2 separate regions of the Homo sapiens genome follow, and region 1 is linked to region 2. Evidence: promoter capture Hi-C in 16 types of primary human blood cells and fetal thymus (Javierre and others, 2016). All regions are on one chromosome and are shown on one strand. Each heading gives the region's core, a stretch centred on a gene start or on the middle of the fragment in contact. The rest is flanking DNA. Distances are from core to core; before and after follow the strand shown.

Region 1 (3,563 bases), core at 1,028-3,527, 400 kb before region 2:
TAATTTTTGTATTCTTAGTAGAGACGAGGTTTCACCATGTTTTCCCAGGCTAGTCTCGAACTCTTGACCTTGTGCTCTGCCCGCCTCGGCCTCCCAAAGTGCTGGGATTACAGGCATGAGCCACCGTGCCCGGCCCTGCATGTATATATTTTATTAAAAGTAAAATTGGGCCGGGCACGGTGGCTTACGCCTGTAATCCCAGTACTTTGGGAGGCCGAGGCGGGCGGATCACCTGAGGTCGGGAGTTGGAGACCAGCCTGACCAACATATAGAAACCCCATCTCTACTAAAAATACAAAATTAGCCTAGCAAGGTAGTGCGTGCCTGTAATCCCAACTACTCGGGAGGCTGAGGCAGGAGAATCGCTTGAACCCAGGAGGCGGAGGTTGCAGTGAGCCAAGATGGCGCCACTGCACTCCAGCCTGGGCAACAAGAGCGAAACTCCATCTCAAAAAAAAAAAAAAAGTAAAATTGGAATGCTATTAGGTTTAGAATTCTACTTTTCCCAATAATATGGTATGCATTTCTCCAAGTAAGTCTTCAATAGCAAGATATTTATTTATTTATTGAGATGGAATCTCGCTCTGTTGCCCAGGCTGGAGTGCAGTGGCTTGACGTCAGCTCATTGCAACCTCTGCCTCCCAGGTTCAAGCGATTCTTGCGCCTCAACCTCCCAAGTAGCTGGGACTACAGGTGTACGCCACCATGCCTGGTTTGTATTTTTAGTAGAAATGGAGTTTCACCATGTTGGCCAGGCTGGTCTCAAACTCCTGACCTCAGGTTATCTGCCCGCCTCGGCCTCTCAAAGTGCTGGAATTACAGGCGTGAGCCACTGCGCCAGGACCAATAGCAAGATATTTAAACGGAAGCATTATATTTCATTGTTATTGATTTAACTATTTTCCTTATATTGGATTTTTAGGTAATTTCCATTTTTTCACTACTCAAGACTACATCCTTGCATGAAAATCTTTGCTTGACTCCGTTTCCTTAAATTCCTGAAAAAGGAATTACTGTCATAGAGCATAAACATTGTGAAGGTTTTTGGATCTTTTTTTCCAAATTGCCTTCCAGAAAGTTTGTAATAATTTACATTCCTGCCTTCTCATTCCTGCATCAACACTTTAATTTTTCCCAACATTTCAAAATTTTGTTAGAAAAGTTAAATCTTACTGTTTCATATTTTATTACCAATAAAGTTGATTATTTTTTCATATGTTTCTTGCCTGTCTGTAGTTCTTCTTTTGGAACGCTTAGTCCATACCATTAGTCTAATTTTTCTATCAGTGTGTTGGATTTTTTCTTTATTTGTAAGAGCTCTTTATGTATAAGGCTGTTGGCCGAATCTAGTGGCTCAGCCTGTAATCCCAAAACTTTAGGACTCAGAGGCAAGGCAGGAGGATCCCTTGAACCCAGGTGTTCGAGACCAGCGTAGGCAACAGAGTGAGACCCTATCTCAAAACCAACAAACAATTTATCTTATGTTGCAAATATTTTTCTTCATATGCCTTTAAACTTTATATATTTTTTTAATTCAATGAGGATTTACACTTTCATACAGGTAGATTGATTTATGTTCTCCTTTGTGGTTTATTCCCTCACTTATGTGTTTACAAAGGCCTTCCTTCACCCAAGTTAAGGTAAATATTCAGCATATTTCCTTGCTGTGGTTAAGAGATGTGAGAAGATACTATGAGAGACTCACTATGTTCACAACTTTTTCCAGTTAAATGAAGTCTTCCCACGTTTCCTAATCACTCACATTAAGCATATAGAATGGATTAATTTTAAATCTGAATATAAAACTAATTGCACAGCATGTTTCACTGCTCTTCTTACTGCCTACCTGGGGCACAGTCTCTTTGGCCTGAGTGGTCTCTTCAGTTTTTAACGAGTGGCTCCACAATTCCTTAGGAAGAGCTGCTCTCTTCTGTCTCCCTGGTGGTCGTAATTTCGCCCACACCTGCCCCGTCTTTGCTCTGCAGCTCCACACTCCCTCAGCCCCGCCGAGAGCTCCTGGCTCCCGTCTCCAGGTTACCCCAGGTCACCACAGCCACCTCTCTGCACCAGCGGCCCGCTCACGTACCCAGCTCCAGGAGCTCCTTCACGATGGCTTTTCCGATGCCCGTGGCCCCGCCGGTGACGATGGCCACTTGGCCCTGCAGCAAACCAGGCGCCAGGTAGCTCCTGCCCTTAGCCCAGGAGGCCATCCCTGCAGCGGGGTGCCAGAGCAGCTGAGCGCAGGCCCTTCTGGGTCTCAGGGACATTCGAGGCGGGCGGGCGGACAGGGCGGTGCTCGAGCCCACGTGACCACCAGAACCCCGCACCCTCCCCGGCCCGGCCCCGCCCCGCCCGCCGGCCGCGGCAAAGCCGCATCCTCCCGGAGCAGAACCGCTCCCCGCCGGCTGTCCGCAACCTCCGCCAGCGTCGGTCCCTGGGCAGGTGTGGGTGAGACTGCTCGTTCGTTTCTTTAAATTTCGATGCCATTGGGGAGGGTGGAAGGGAAATGCAAAAAAAAAAAAAGAAGAAGAAAGAAACAAGCAGGGTGTGCTCTATTTCAAAAATTCAATCCTCAGGGCTGAAGCTCTCACGATTAATTAAAATTAAATCTCCAGTGCAGCTGGAAAAAGAAAGGCTGCTGCTCGGCGCCCTCGCTGCGCCCGCCTGCCGGGGTCGGACGTCGGCGATGCTGTGGCTCCAGGTGCTGTGTGCCGCTGGCTGGGAAGGGGAGAAAGGGCAGGCTTAGCTGAGGGGGAGAAATGCGGCTTTCAGATCCTTTCATCCTTCGGGAGGGAGCCCGGGAAAGAGAGTGAAGGGGAAGAGGAGATGCGGTTGCAGTTTTCCACAGAACCAAGAGAATAAACGATTTGAAAAAATAAACTCAGGCCCACCTCCGTCTCACCTCCCACTCCCCACCCAAGAATCAAGGGGAAAGATCATCTTTACCAGGTTTGAGACCTGATCCATTTCAGCTGAGCTGCATAGCGAGTCCAGAAGAGGATCTTTCCTTGAAGGGTGCACGCTTCCTGCAAGATGCATCTGTAGGTGTTTGAGATCATGTCCTGTAGTTCATTCCTTGTGCAGGAGGGTGAGCCCGCTGAGGATGGGGAAAATTTCTCGTCTGTGTTATGGTGCCCAGTAACAGTGATTTATTATTCAGATCTGCTCCTTATTTTTCATCTTGCTTCCCGCTCTGAACCCACCAGAGTGAGATTACACCTGGACTGGCCTACTGAGACTTCACCCTAAGAACTTGGTCGAATGTGCCAGTTGCTGTGGTCTTAACAATCCAGATGGGATGCTATTTCTAAGGCTGTTGTCAGAGTGTTGCATTTTCCCCGGACAGGTATTAAAATAATATAAAGGCAAATAAATGCCATCATCCTTTTGTTGGACCTACCACCTAGGATTCACAAAGCCAATTGGAAATGGGTCTGGTTGACAGAGGAATCAGACCATCACTTCCTCCACCAGGTCCCACCCACCAGCGAGGCTGCAGTTCTTGTTGGACAGCTACACTTCCCTGTTGCTCCATCCTCTTGTCCTTCTCTGATCTCTTTTTA
Region 2 (3,325 bases), core at 1-2,500:
GGGCATTCACTACCTCGTGGCAAAGGGCACAGCTGATGACTACCTTTGGTATGGCTTGGTTGGGTGGCCTGGCAGTTGGAGTCGAGCAAGGGTGGAAACTGATGATATGTTTACTTTGCTCCCAAAGTGCTTCTGCTTTTGCTAAGTAAGGTCTTTAAGGATCTATAGAAAATTGACTAGTGATGCCCTCCTGCTTTCATCATGACCATATTTGGCCTCCCTCACTAGCGTTCACTGGTGGCTTGCAGGGTGCATGCTGAATCTTATAGCAATAAGGGGTTGTGGCTCCTTTTGCTGCTGGTCTGAGGCAGGGAGAAGTGCTGATTATGACAAAATATAGATGGAATTTAGTTTGTAAAACACCCTGTTCCCAGCTGTGAAGGCATTTGTTAGGACAGGGTGACAGTCTTTTACCTTTTATGATGTGCATTTATCTGGTGGGCACATCTTACATTGCTGCTGCTGGACCACAGGGAGAAAGTGGCTTACCCTGGACTGTGTAGTGTACTTCGTTAGCAGAGCTGGAGTAAGATTTTCAACCCTAGGGTTTTCTGTCTGTTACCTAAGTGAAAAATCTCAAAAAGCTTCTTCCCCTTATCTCCCCCTTCCTGATACAAAATTTCTTGATTATCTCATTTGTTTCCACTGCTTGTCTCTGTTTCCAGCCTTATGACTAAGGAGTCTTCCCTTTGCAATGTGTGTGGGTCACTCCTACTTCCCCCTTTTTAGTGGATTTGTTAATTGGGCAGCTCATAATACCACCAGATTCAAAATTGTGTTGAAATGAGGCAGCATTTATTTCCTACACATCTTCCATTAGAAAGAATATTGAACCTGATGATATTCTTAGCCCTAAATTGGAGTTTTTACAAATGAGAGGGGGCAAATTTTTCAAGATGGGTGTTTGCACCTTGAGAGATGCAGAGATGTGAAACCGTAAACAAGCCGTTGTCCCATAAGAACAAGGAGGGTGGCCTCATTTTCATTAGTCTGGTGGTTCTGTGCAGGTTGTATTCACTGCAGCTCATTTCTCCCCAACAGGCCCCTGATTCAAGAGAAGATTAAAGTTCTGGCAGAAGCCGGGCTTTCTGAGACCAATTTTTCAGAAATGACAGAATCCACTGATTACCTCTACAAGGTAATGCCAGCACATGGCTCTTCACCCCTGGAGCAGAGGGAGGCATTAAGCTGTCTGCCAAGTCTTTGGGTCCTGAGTAGGAGGATGTGAATCACTCCTAGGGACCTCCCCCAGCCTAGAGCTGAAAACAATGGCCTGCAGTCATTCTCAGTTGAACCATGCATGCATCGCTTTATGGGGAAATGATGGCATTAGCTCCTACAGCTGCTGACATTCCCGCACAGGCTCTGAATGCTGCCTCTTCCAGCAGGCCATTAGAAACTGACAAAACTCCCCATGGCAAATGTTGAATTGTTTCAAAAAGTACACAGCAACACCACACATAGGGCTGCCACAGGAATGCATCCCCAGCACAGAATGGGGAGTGTTTAAAATAGGGTACTGGCTTCATAGAATATATTTTCCCTTCTGTCATTTTATTTATTCTCAGTGTCTCCCCACTTGATAGAGGGGTAAACTGAGACATGGCAGTATAGTAGGTTTGCACAAAGTCACAGGGCATGTGAAGCCAGCCCAAGGAAGAAGGCTTCCTGACTTGGCCCAGCATTCCTCCTTTGAGCTCAGCCCTTGTTGTAAAGGAGTATAAGAGGCATCCCTCCATGACCAGGCAGGCCTTGTCAAAGGTGCTGAGGGGGAAGGCTGTTGCCTCTGAACAGGACAGCCCTGGGCCCATCATGCCTGCCTGGTTTCAGTGCTGCAGCCCAGTGGCTGCCACAGACTCTTCCTCCCCCATTTCAGTGAAACACAGTGGAGTGAGCAAGAGACCCAGAGCCTTCCAAAAGCTTGTTTTCCTTCCCCAGCTTGGATTGTTGGCCAGAAGGTGAAAACCAGGAGTATGCCCTCCTCGAGCACAGCTCATGGTTGAATTGTTTCTGCCAGGAGAGTTTGAACCAGGTCTGAGCCTCATGCAGAAAGGGGCCTTACGGTAGCTTATCAGGAAAGTGAAGCACCTCCTCCTTCCTGTGAAATCACCATCAGAATATTGAGTTAGGCCACACATGGTGGTGCACACCTGTAGTCCCAGCTACTCCAGAGGAAAAGGTGAGGATCACTTGAGCCTAGGAGGTCAAGGCTGTAGTTAGCCATGATGGTCACTGTACTCTAAACTGGGCAACAGAGCAAGAGCCTGCCTCAAAAAAAAAAAAAGAGAAAGAAAAAAGTTTAAATAAATAAGAAGTTGAGTTAAATCTTATCGTTGACACCAAGACTTAAGACTCTGTGGATCTGCTCATTCACTTACATTTATTTAGCAAATAAATTCTTTCTTTGCAAGGATTTATTTGCTAAATATTGGGATAAATAAGACTCAGATCATATTTTTAAATGCAGACTGCAAATTATCCTTTCAGACATATATAGTTAATAAGCCAATTTTAAAACAACCTTATTTTTAAGCTTTTTAAAGAACTCTCCAGTTCAGCTGAATGGTAAATGGTAACAGAGCCTAGGTTATTACAAGCCTTTTGAAAAGAAATAGTCTGAGCAGGCATAGTGGCTCAAGCCTCTAATCCCACACTGAGGCGGACAGATGACTTGAGCCCAGGAGTTTGAGACCAGCCTGGGCAACATGGTGAAACCCCCATCTCTACAAAAAATACAAAAATTAGCCAGGCATGATGGCACATGCCTGTATTCCCAGCTACTCAGGAGACTGAGGCAGGAGGATTCCCTGAACCTGGGAGGCAGAGGTTGCAGTGGGCCAAGATCACACCACTGCATTTCAGCCTAGGCAACAGAGACAGACCTTGTCTCAAAAAAGAAAAAAAAGAAAGCCTATTTTTAAAGGATTCTCACTTGAACTCATTTATTCCTCCTTGCCTTTCTCTTACTCTAAATTGGTTAAGCATTTCTACCTAAAATATAAGTACAAGGTAATATAAATGAGTTTTATCAATATTTTGATCAATAACTATATCAATTTATTTTTTAATTAAGATGGGGCTGAAAATTTTATCAACTACTAGAAAAAGAAAATGTTGCTTCCAATATAGGAGACAAAAGCAGAAGAGGTTATATCTCACTGAGATAGCCTTCCTTCTGAGAGGGGAAATGAAATATTAATCTGATCTTGGAACTCGCTTCCAATTAATTATGCATGCCCCGAGTCAGCATACAGTGTTGCCATCATCATAATCAAATGCACATTAGCAGCTTTTTCTACTTGGAATAGGCTGCCTTGCAGGGTGG

What was found. The method cuts DNA at HindIII sites, captures the fragments that hold promoters and counts their contacts. A CHiCAGO score of 5 or more calls a contact.
Region 1: the fragment with the promoter of PECR here is called in contact with a fragment that was not itself captured in region 2 in 1 of 17 cell types (activated CD4 T cells); the score reaches 5.2 in activated CD4 T cells.

What each region holds. Positions count from the first base shown.
Region 1 is chr2:216,079,532-216,083,094 of GRCh38, forward strand. PECR (peroxisomal trans-2-enoyl-CoA reductase) reads right to left here and starts at 2,278. Exons shown (of 8, transcript NM_018441.6): 1 at 2,087-2,278. The coding sequence starts at 2,210. TMEM169 (transmembrane protein 169) reads left to right here and starts at 2,388. Exons shown (of 3, transcript NM_001142311.2): 1 at 2,388-2,448. RefSeq lists enhancers at 1,880-1,959, 1,990-2,039 and a silencer at 2,230-2,489. The HindIII fragment of the contact is 11,582 bases long and covers 1-3,563 here.
Region 2 is chr2:216,477,162-216,480,486 of GRCh38, forward strand. It overlaps SMARCAL1 (SNF2 related chromatin remodeling annealing helicase 1), which reads left to right. Exons shown (of 18, transcript NM_014140.4): 16 at 1-48; 17 at 1,042-1,138. Among named protein-coding and RNA genes, the nearest start is that of RPL37A-DT, 20 kb to the right of the region's middle. The HindIII fragment of the contact is 1,336 bases long and covers 583-1,918 here.